2 separate regions of the Homo sapiens genome follow, and region 1 is linked to region 2. The links are contacts of gene promoters, found by promoter capture Hi-C in blood cells and fetal thymus (Javierre and others, 2016). All regions are on one chromosome and are shown on one strand. Each heading gives the region's core, a stretch centred on a gene start or on the middle of the fragment in contact. The rest is flanking DNA. Distances are from core to core; before and after follow the strand shown. Region 1 overlaps RNF217 (ring finger protein 217). Region 2 holds the start of RNF217 (ring finger protein 217).

Evidence for each region. The method cuts DNA at HindIII sites, captures the fragments that hold promoters and counts their contacts. A CHiCAGO score of 5 or more calls a contact.
Region 1: a contact is called between a fragment that was not itself captured here and the fragment with the promoter of RNF217 in region 2, in 2 of 17 cell types (megakaryocytes and M2 macrophages). The highest score is 5.1, in megakaryocytes.

Annotation. Positions count from the first base shown.
Region 1 is chr6:125,070,475-125,076,207 of GRCh38, forward strand. All of the region lies in intron 3 of RNF217 (ring finger protein 217), which reads left to right. Among named protein-coding and RNA genes, the nearest start is that of TPD52L1, 80 kb to the right of the region's middle. The HindIII fragment of the contact is 2,649 bases long and covers 246-2,894 here.
Region 2 is chr6:124,959,699-124,965,345 of GRCh38, forward strand. It overlaps RNF217 (ring finger protein 217), which reads left to right and starts at 2,739. Exons shown (of 6, transcript NM_001286398.3): 1 at 2,739-3,728. The coding sequence starts at 2,847. RNF217-AS1 (RNF217 antisense RNA 1) reads right to left here and starts at 3,329. Exons shown (of 7, transcript NR_026876.1): 1 at 3,125-3,329. The HindIII fragment of the contact is 3,639 bases long and covers 379-4,017 here.

The DNA.
Region 1 (5,733 bases), core at 320-2,819, 110 kb after region 2:
GTTTTCTTTTCACCACATTCACACCAACATCTATTGTTTTTTGACTTTTTAATTATGGCCATTCTTGTAGGAGTAAGGTGGTATCTCATTGTGTTTTTAATTTGCATTTCCCTGATAATTAGTGATGCTGAGCATTTTTTCATATGTTTGTTGACTGTTGGTATCTCTTCTTTTGAGAAATGTCTATTCATGTCCTTTGTCCACTTTTTTATGGGATTTGTTTGAGTTTCAGGAAATTTTTTTAAAGCTTTCCTTGTAACTTTTGTTTCTAATTAATTCTTCCAGGTATCAAAAGTCATTGAAGGAAACACATATATAAAAATACTTTCAAAAATGAATTAGAGGTTAGGATTTTATCTAGAGTAAAATATTTGTTGGGGGCAGTAATACATAACAGTCAACTTAGTTATCAAATGCTGCTTAAACAATAAAGTAAGCCTTCATTTCTTGGTGAAACTGGAGACAAATACTTGTGGGCAGATGTATACTGATTTAGTCATAAAACATTGTAGGTTTAGCAGTTCATTTACTGTTATTCTTCTACCTTATGATTAGGTAGAACCTTGTTTGAAAATAAAAGGCCACATTCCAGTTCTTTTTTTTAGATACTTTGTGGGCATTTTATTGAATTAAATGTAAACAACTTGAGGAGGACAGGTACTATTTTCTTCATGCAGATGGTTCCCAAGTTAGGATGGTCTGACATGATTTCGACTTTTCTTACGATTTTTCAACTTTTCCATGATGTGAAAGTAACATGCGTTTGGTAGAAACCATATTTCAAATTTTGAATTTCGATCTTTTCCCAGGCTCAAAGTAAGCTGGGCAGTGGCAGCGAGCTGTGCAGCTGGCAGTCACCCGTGCCATCACGAGGGTGAACAACTGATACTCACAGTGGACTGGGTTGCCAGCATTTTTTGGATATTGTGTTTTGTTTTTTCACATCCCATGTCTACAAATTGCCCATTTTCAACCTATGATATTTTCAACTTGGAGCATCTGCCTACATATGTGTGTGTGTGTGTGTGTGTGTGTGTGTGTGTGTGTGTGTGTGTGTGTGTGTATATCTTATTACAGGTTTTAATCCATCCTGTGAAGAATATCCTAGGCACAAAAATGGCTCCTTGTGTCATTTCCATCTACTACAATGTGGACTTAATATCAAACTCTTATAAGGGAATATCTAGCTTATTCTGAACATTTCATCTTATGACCTTAAGTATAGAAAGATATAAGTAATGCTTGGTGCCTAAATATTCAATTCCTTAAATGTCAGTCATCCTTATTTGTTATAGATAGAAGAAACTATGAGTACTAACAATTCAAATGTCATTCATGATTTATGAGTGGCCAGTTTTATCTAATGGATTAGGATTATCTAGTCTTTCTCCATCTTTTAAGTAAAAAGAGAATTTTGATACTAAATTTTAGCCACTTGGGCAGTTAGTTTATTTTTTAGCAGAGCTAAACTCATGAATATTTTTGGAGCTATAATAAAAAATAAAAACAGCTTCATTGAGAACAAAATGAACTTTCTGTAAATATAATTTAAACCTATGTTTTAAGGCTTTGTGTTTTAAAAACAAAGATGACACTGTTAAAGTGAGACTGATAAAGGTGTACTTGGGGAATTCATCAGCATAAGAAATGTATTATCCCCTGGTAGTACGAGTTTAAAATTACAACTTGCTTAGCAAATGTGAAAAATAATGTCTCCTGTTGCAGATTGCATTTTGCTAGTTTATTTCTCTGTTAGTGTCAAATAAAATATTCATATATAATCAAGATATATTCATAATAATATTAAAGGCAGCACTGTGTACTTGACAGTTGGTAAATGATGAAACAATTTTTTCCGTGATTATGTGTATAAAATACTCAAATTAATCTATAGAGCCATATAATCCCAAAATGTACAAGGTTACTATAGAGCTTACAATTTTACCACTTCCTGTACAGAAATATTATTTGACCAACGGTATTTTAGTTGCCTGCTGCATTTGGAATATAATAATACTAATAAGGAAAGACTGTTAAAAGAGAAAGGCTAGAAAGTGCAAACTTATTTAAATGAAATAATAAATAGGCCACATAAAGATTTTAGAACCCAATGAAGCAATATTACAAACAGATATAAAATTACAGTGAAAATTATATGTGAAATATGAGGCAAAACTTATTAGAACAAGTTTTTCTGTCAGGAAAAGTGATGCCATTTGAAGGAAGAATGGCACAGAATGGCAAAAACAAGAAGACACAGATATACCTTGTGGAGGGAGAGCTGACATGTTTGTCTGACTGGTTGGCAAATAATATGATTGATCTTCTGGTGTTACCTTTTAAGTTCATCATAAGAGGCTACTTAGCATAATAAAGAAACACATGGATTCAAAATCTTTCTCACTCACGAGGATTATCACTCAGGCAGATTACTTTTCTGAACTCTGTTTATGAAGAAGAATGCCAATCTCATGGTGCAGTTATAAGGCTTAAAAGTGCTAATCTGTGTACAATGCTTGGCACATAATAGGCTCTACGCAAAAATTAGCGCTCTTTCCTTGGTAGATCACCCACGACACTGCTATCAGTGTCAAATCAGGAAATTTGTTAAGTCGTATTATCTCCACTTTAAGATCAAACACAATATATAGTCAAAAAGTTGAATGTACGATGCTTTGGGTTTTCGGCAGTTGTCTTCAAATATGTCCTAGTGCTCATGTGGTTTAAATAAGGATCAGAAATGATTCAGAGGTCCAGTAGGGCTGTTGGCCTGTGGTATTCCTAATGCCATTTACTGTGCTAAATGGATGTGGCTACAGTAACCATTGATAAACATGAACAACAGAGGGTAAGTGCTGGACTAGGAGCTGACTCACAGAAAGCTAAAGGGCTTAAGCTTCAAAGACCTTCACCTGCACAGGCCCCTTCTTAGGCCTTGTATCTAATTTGTCTTTGTAAGTTGGATTATTTTGCTTAAAGAAGGATTCTCAAATTAAACAATCTACAGGCCTTGCAAAACCTGGATCCACTGCTACTGGTCTGTCATGTAAAAGGAAAAAAATCACTATGACTAAAAAAGTTAGATAAGGCAACCCATAGCAAGAAACATGAGTTTTGCTTTTCTTGCCCAAATCATGATTTGTTGGTAACTCTCGACCCTAGGTGCTTATATGCCCTTGACCACACACTTGCCTATCTAGGAAAGCACTCTCTAGTCCAGCATCAGCCTAAGAATTGCCCATATGAAGAAGTAAGAAAGGGGACTGCCTGGCAGTCCAGGAACTTGCAGTTAAATTACCCGGGTATTTGATTTCTGGCATTTTTAGGTGGGTAAAGGGGAATAAGTAGATGGGAAACAACTTTATATTGACCTGACTCCATATGTGCCAAAACGAGTTTGGCACTGTGCATAGGTTATCACATTTTACACTGGTTGGTAGGGAATATTATCTAACTTGACACTTGGGAGAGGTAAAGTAACTTCTTTTTAAACAGCTAGTGGAGCTAGAATTCAAACACAGGGCTTTGTGAAGTCAAAGCTCATGTTCTTTCCAACCTCTCTGTAAGGCAGAAGCTTACCTGCCAAGTGTCAGTCACCCACTGGAAAGGAATGGACATTTCACCTCCCAGTTCACCTAACGATTTTGAATACATAAAGTCCTGCCAGCCAATTGACAAACTTTTCTTTCTTGGTCCCTTCATTTCCCCATGTATGAAGTGCCCGCCTGTAATATGCTGTGTTCCACTTAATTATTACTTCTTCAAAATGATCACAGTCACCAAGAAACTCTCCAGTTAGGTAGGTCGGTAGACAGAAGATAGGTAGATAGATAGATAGATAGATAGATAGATAGATAGATAGATAGATAGATAGATAGGGATGGGAGGAAGGGGGAGAGAGAGGTGTTATCTTTTAAGTGACATTTTTGTGATTACTATGATTAATGGCCGTTATTAGTTCACAAGCAGCCTCATGAGTTCTTTTGAAATTCATATTGTTCCATTAAATTGCAGTTTTATATTTTAGTTATTTAATCCCTAAAACTGAAATACTGCACATAATTTGGAGTTAGGAACTTCAAAAACTTTTTATTCCTAAAAGCTATACAACAAGGTTTTATTTTAAAGTAAAGAAAAATTTTCATCTCTCAACCTTTTCATTTCTCCTTTCACAGAACTCTTCTCTTTTTCCTGGATGATTTTATCCCACCTCCATAATCATTGACCAGTTTTTTTAATGCAGTTATAACTACACTACTTCAGACATTCAAATAAATACACTGTATTAGGGGAAGGAAAGGATAATTTTAAAGGAAATATGCAGAGTTTTAGCTTATGGCTAAGACTTGACTGACAAGAGTCAAACAACTACTGAAGGATTTGACACACTTGTTAATTGTAAAACTCCCAATTGCTTTAAAACATTCACTGACACTCTAGTCCCGAAACAACACAATGAATAGAAGCCTCCACTAGTCAAAATGGTATCAGGAGCATTTTCAATAAAATTTCTAAGCAAAGAACTCACATGTGAATGAATAAAGATGTGACTTGAGCAAGTACCTACTCCAAGTGCAAGCTTGTCCAACCTGTGGACCACTTGCTGCCCAGGACAGCTTTGAATGCAGCCCAACACTAATTTGTAAACTTTCTTAAAACATTATGAGATGGTTTTTGCAATTTTTTTTAGCTCATCAGCTATCATTAGTGTTAGTGTGTTTTATGTGTGGCCCAAGACAATTCTTCTTCTTCTAGTGTGGTCAAAAGATTGGACACCCCTGCCGTAGTGAAGTAGTAGACTATTTTTAGGAGGTCTCATTTTAGTAACAGGAGAACTGGGCAATTGTATTAGTCCATTATCATGCTGCTATGAAGAAATACCTGAGACTGGGTAATTTATAAAGAAAAGAGGTTTAATTGACTCATGGTTCCGCATGCCTGGGGAGGCCTCAGGAAACTTACAATCATGGCAGAAGGCACATCTTCACAGGGCAGCAGGAGAGAGAATGAATGCAAGCAGGGGAAATGCCAGACGCTTACAAAACTATCAGAACTTCTGAGACTCACTCATTATCACAAGGGCAGCATGAAGGAAACTGCCCCCATGATCCAATTCCCTCCACTTGACCCTGCCCTTGACACGTGGGGATTGTTACAATTCAAGGTGATATTTAGGTGGGAATACAGAGCCAAACCATATCAGCAATGTAACCAAAATATTATGTATTTTGATTAAATAATGTTAAGTTAAACTATGTTGTCTTTTATGATTATTCATGCAACAAAGTACGCACAGATAAAGATGGCTCTAATTTCTATACAATATCTTTCCATGAGGATTCTGAGTTGAGTTTCCAATTTTATCGCAAAGAGTAAAGTCTTGATTATAACATGGTCTCACTGCTTGAGGCGGTGACTACCACACTGTATGTTATATATGGTGTATGTATATATACCATACCACCACTGTATGGTATATATGGTATACATATATATGTATATATGGTGAACTACCCAAAAATGAAATCCTTGTTACATGATGGGTGAAGCTGTGTTTACATGTAACTTGACTGCAACAATAGAGGAAGGTGCTTAGTTGCACAGATGGTATTGTACAAACAGTTCTACAAACAACACATTTACAAATAATATTAGAGCTGAAAACTAAAAAGGTATTGCAAATACATTTATATCTGCTATAATTTCCTTCAACAAAGAGACCTCTGCTTTTTG
Region 2 (5,647 bases), core at 1,489-3,988:
GTGATGAATATCCTGTGTACCTTTATTTGATCATCACACATGGTATGCATATATCAAAATATCACATATATCCCACAAATATGTTCAAATATTATGCATTAATAAAAATGATTTAAAAAAATTGAAGGGAGCCAAAAAGAAGTCATGTTTTAATGCCAGGATAAGAAAGGCAATAATAGAAAAAACAGCATTCTAAAACTGACATAGTTTTCTGATATTGAAGTCTGGATTTTAGGGAAGGTACACAGTTCACTGCAGATTAGGACATTTTGAGGCTTTATGTTGGTAGGAGCAGGATATTAGTGATAGTACTTACGTTGTATCAACAGTTGTGTACAACCTGAGATGGAGCAGATGGTTTGAGTTTTGAGAATATTAAGCTTGTGGCAGATAAATGGAATTTTTGCTAAAATATTAAATATTGGTTAATAAAATATTTTCAACCAATCCTTCTTTAAATAATTAATCCCATCGAAACAATCATTACTGGTGCTTCATGCACTTCAGAGAAAATTCATTGTGGAACCACGATGTTAACTTTTCAATTTAATTCACTTCCATGCTGCTGGAGTCCCATGAGCACTAGATTGAATGCCAGGGGTGGTGGGTCAAGGATTCAGGCAAGTTTGGGCCAATTTGGAGGGTGGAAATAGGGAACCACATATTATTCTATTTTCACAAAGGCCCAATGAATTCTGTAGGGAAGAAGTCATGGCAAAATAAAGGGCTGCAGTTTTAAGCAGCAGAGATATGGGCGGCCATCATGAGTCCCAGCAGGGACTTCTAATGGGTTTGGTGTAGAGGACAGCCACTTCCAGTAAGCTGGAACCTAAGGGATAAGGAATAAAATGGTAAACACTGGAAGAACAAGTTCTCAGAATACGAGTGAAAAATGTGTGTGAGGAGGGGTTCCCAAAACTATAAGAGGACTTTGAGGGGTTTTATTCCAATAGACGCTGTGGGAATATACTTTTTGGCATCCATTATTGTTACTCTGGTCTTAGCCTGTTGTCACCTGGAAAATGCAGATTACTTTTATATCTCTGGAAAGAATAGTGGCTTGGTCATCAGATGGCACACTCAAAAGGCACACATAAGTAGGTTTCTTGTCTCTGTCTTTAAAACAATAAGCACTTAAAGTATCATTTGGAGAAAACAGCAGTTACCAGGAAATCACTTAGCTGAGATAAAAAAGAAAAGAATCCTCGAATAGCATTTAATCTTCAAAATAAGAATTTTCCATTCTTGGGTCAGACCGATAGATGACATGGCATTTAGACATCCAATTCATACCTTTGCTTGCAACTGAGCCTCAGACACACATATATGATGGAAATGTTCTTTGGCATTACACTGCTTTCTTAGTTTGCATCGCTAGTCACCTTTGTATCATTTGCATCTGATTTGGAAAATATTTTAGAACAACCCAATAACAACTTCGAGATTAAAAAATAAAATTCTACACACTTTACAGTTCCTTGCTATTACATGAATGTGTAAATTGAATTCCCTCTCAGGAGAAAAAAAACAAAACAAGGGCTGGCTTCCCAAAAATGTTTTCACTGGCTTTAGGGAACTAAAACACCAGTGTCTGGGTGAGTAATACTTCCTGTAAAATAAAGATAGATCAACACATAATTAAGTCCTGGCTCACATATAATTGTTGTTTTGGAAACAGTTTTGAGGATAAATATGGTTATGCTAATGAAACTGCCCATGATTTCCACTAATGATCCAGTTTATTAATTAGGTCAGGACATTTTTCCACCTTGTGCTATCCATTTTGGAATGCTGAAAAGGGTTAAAAAAAAAAACTTCTAAGAGAACACTGTAGGCGAAGAAAAAGAGAGAAATTTTAAATTAGTTATCAACTCTTCTAAGGATTCCAGTTGGAGGAGTAGATCGAAAGTGCTTTTTCGATTATTTATGGGTTTCGAAGATTCTTCCTACTCCACTAGGCAGAAAAACAGAGTTGTAATATACAGCATTTAGAATTCATAATCCTTAGCATTATTTCTCTGAACTCGACATCCTAAATAGCCAGCGTTTACTAATTCCAGAGCTGAGTGTAGTTTTGTAGGAAGTTCTACTGAATGCGGAGACCAAAGGGGAGCCTGCCTGCTCTGAGGGTTTTGTTGAGGCTGAGTGTGAACTCCGGGCGAGAAAGCGCATCTCAGCTCTTAGATCACACCCACTCAGGGTGTGCGTGTGTGTGTGCGCGGGTGCCTGCGCGCGTGTGTACGTGTGGGGAGGTGTGCGCCAAAGGGGTGGGGTGAGGGGCGGCGAGGAGGGCTGTAGGTGAAGCGCGGGGAGAGGGAGGTCGCCCGCTCCGGCCTCTCCCCCAGGGGCCCTGCGGCTGGCCAGCGCTCCGGCTGCACCTCCTGGTGCGCGCCGCGGCGGCGCCACAGGCCCCTCGACCCTTTGACCACCGCCCTCGGGCCGCGCGTCCGGCAGCCGGGACCGGTGATGGCGCGGGACTGACGGCCGTCTCCTCCCAGACCCCTCTGTCCCGCCTGGGGCTCGCTGGGGCTGCGGCGCCGCCCCGAGCTGCATGTGGGGCGGGCGCGCCCGAGCCCAGAGCGAGCGGCCCTCGGCGCCCCCGAGGCGGTGCCCCGCCGCGCCAGAGTACGAGGAGGAGCGGCGGGCCGGGCCAGGCTCCCCACGCGCCGCAGCCTCGGAGCACGGGCTCCCCGGAGGGGACTTGGGGCGTCCCAGCCCAGGAGGAAGGACCCGGAAGCAGAAGCGGAGCCGCGAGTCGAGCCGAGCCACTGCCCCCGCTGCCCGCGGGCGCCGGGTGGGGGTCCCGGCGGCTGGATGGGCAGCGGCGGCGCGGGCCGCGGGCGGCGATGGGCGAGGAGCAGAGCACGGTGAGCGGCGGCGGCGGGCCCCAGGAGTCGCAGACCCTGGCCAGTGGCACTGCGGGCCACCCTGAGCCCCCGAGGCCTCAGGGGGACAGCGCCCGGGCGCCCCCGCTGCGCGCCGCCTCCGCGGAGCCGAGCGGCGGTGGCTGCGGAAGCGACTGGGGCTGCGCGGACACCAGCGCCCCAGAGCCCGCGAGGAGCCTGGGGCCCCCGGGCTGGAGTAAGAGCCGAGCACCGGCGCAGCCTGCGGGACTGGCACTCACCGGGCCTCTCAATCCCCAGACCTTGCCACTGCAGTTGGAGCTGGAGGAGGAAGAGGAGGAAGCTGGGGATCGAAAAGAGGGAGGGGATGAACAGCAGGAGGCGCCCCCCGGCGAAGAGCTGGAGCCCAGGACCCGCGTGGGGGCCGCCGACGGACTGGTCCTGGACGTGCTGGGTCAGCGGCGCCCGTCCCTCGCCAAGAGACAAGTCTTCTGCTCCGTGTACTGCGTGGAGAGCGACCTGCCCGAGGCCCCCGCCTCGGAGCAGCTCTCGCCGCCCGCGTCGCCACCTGGGGCTCCGCCAGTGTTGAACCCTCCCAGCACCCGCTCTTCCTTCCCCAGCCCCCGACTGTCCCTCCCAACGGATTCCCTCTCCCCCGACGGCGGCAGCATCGAGCTGGAGTTCTACCTGGCGCCCGAGCCGTTCTCCATGCCCAGCCTGTTGGGAGCTCCACCCTACTCTGGCCTGGGCGGTGTAGGGGATCCCTATGTGCCCCTCATGGTGCTGATGTGCCGGGTGTGCCTGGAAGACAAGCCCATCAAGCCCCTGCCTTGCTGCAAGAAGGCCGTGTGCGAGGAGTGCCTCAAAGTCTACCTGAGCGCCCAGGTAACTTCACCCCCTTCTCTTCCCCATTTATCATTCCAAATCACTGGCGAGGAGGTCCTGCTCTCGATCTGATCTCCCTGCTCGCGCGAAGAGGTGACCGACACACTTACTGAGGATCTCTGTTAGTTTCTCACGTCTCAGTTGTTATTTAAGTGTATTATGACCTCACTGGTTTACTTAACTGGAATTTAACTTTGCTGTGAACTTCAGGCTATGGTTGGCATGTGTAGAAGGCACAAGATACAAGTTGTTGCCCTCCTCTTATTTCTTATACAGGATTGCAAGCACAAGCTTGCTCAAAGGAGGAGAGGAAGAGACTGCCTCATCGGCCTGGTATCCCAGAAACTAACAAGCAGTGGGCATAGAATAAATATTTATGGAGCTGGTGGAGAAAAGAATTGGAATAAATATTTCAGACCCATAATACATGAATTTGTAATTTTGCTTCATTTGTATATTCCAGGAAAGAGTGAATGTTTAAAAAAATGTATCCCTTGGCCTTTGCCTACTTTTCAGTTTCCTTTTTCCACAGTAAAGTTGAAGTACTTTTCTTTCACTGAGGTTTTAAGCCAGCACTCTTTAAGAGGGAAGCAAAACAGAAAGAGCAAAACAAAGCAAAGAGAGGCTAAGAGGTTTCTCAGAACAAGCACTGGTGAAACTTTCCTCCTCTGCTTTTATTTGAAAACTTGGTTTTTTTTCTTGGAAAGCTTGAGAGTGCACCAGACCAGCTTTCCTTCACTGACGGTGAATGCGTTCTTCCAGCAGTTTTCAATCTGTGATGTTTCTGCCAGTGTTTTGCACAATCCTGGATGCCCTTTGATCCTGTGTCCAATTGTCCTAGGCCTATTCATCTTTCAAAACCCTGTGTGTTCAGGTGCCAACTCTTCTGTGAAGCGTTGCCTCACCCTCCAAGTCACTGCTTATATACTTTCACAGTATCTTATATTATCTTACATGCACTGAAGTTGTTTCTTTCGTGTCTGCTTGTCTTGTTAGACTGTCTGGACAATGTCTTAGAGTCCCATATGTGGTAGCTTCATGTTGAGTCCCTTGCCCATCATAGTGTTTTTAATAACATTGGCTGGGACAAACTGAACAGGGCTCCGTACCATGTGATTCCTCTATGTTTTTTGGCTAACTCATGCTTGGGTCTAGACTGAAAGTGTGTACAGTCCCTAACTAAAAATGCAAACAAAGACTTAAAACGGTATGTTACATAAACAGTAAGTTGGCTAAAATAGTTGGGATTATTTAAAAGCCTCTGAGAGACTGTTGTTTCTTTCATGCTTTATCTACAGAGATTCTTAAAACAGGAGGAATGTCTGCTGCTGGTTGTGGTAGTTTCTGTATCATCATCCTCAAAACAGATTTCGCTGCCCTGCGATGGGATTCAGACATTTCCAAAATATAAGCCCGCCTCCAGGGAAGTCACTGTGAGAGCAGATGTGTACAAAAGAACAATACAAGGTAGCATGGGATGAGATGTCAATAGAGTAACAATTCCAGATAGCACTTCCTGTTAAATGCTGGATACACATTCCAGAAATTCAAGGGAGGTAGTCATTGTGGCTTGGGGTACTTTACCTAGCAGTTTGATTTCCTTATGGTGGGCCCTTTCCCCAAAGCAGTTTTCTTTTTCTTTATTAAACCTCATAAGTTAGTTTTAGGAAGTTTTAGTAATGGTAGTAGGGAGACAGAGGGACATAGTCAAGTGGTCATTGCAGTGTACAGTACAACCACTAAAAACTCCTCTGCAGTGACACAGTATCTGAAGCTTGTCTGCAGCATTTCTGATTGTATGTATGTGCCTGACCTTCTTCCAAAGTATTTGCTGGGACTTTCAATAAATAATAATACACATTATTGGCCGGGTGCGGTGGCTCACGCCTGTAATCCCAGCACTTTGGGAGGCTGAGGCA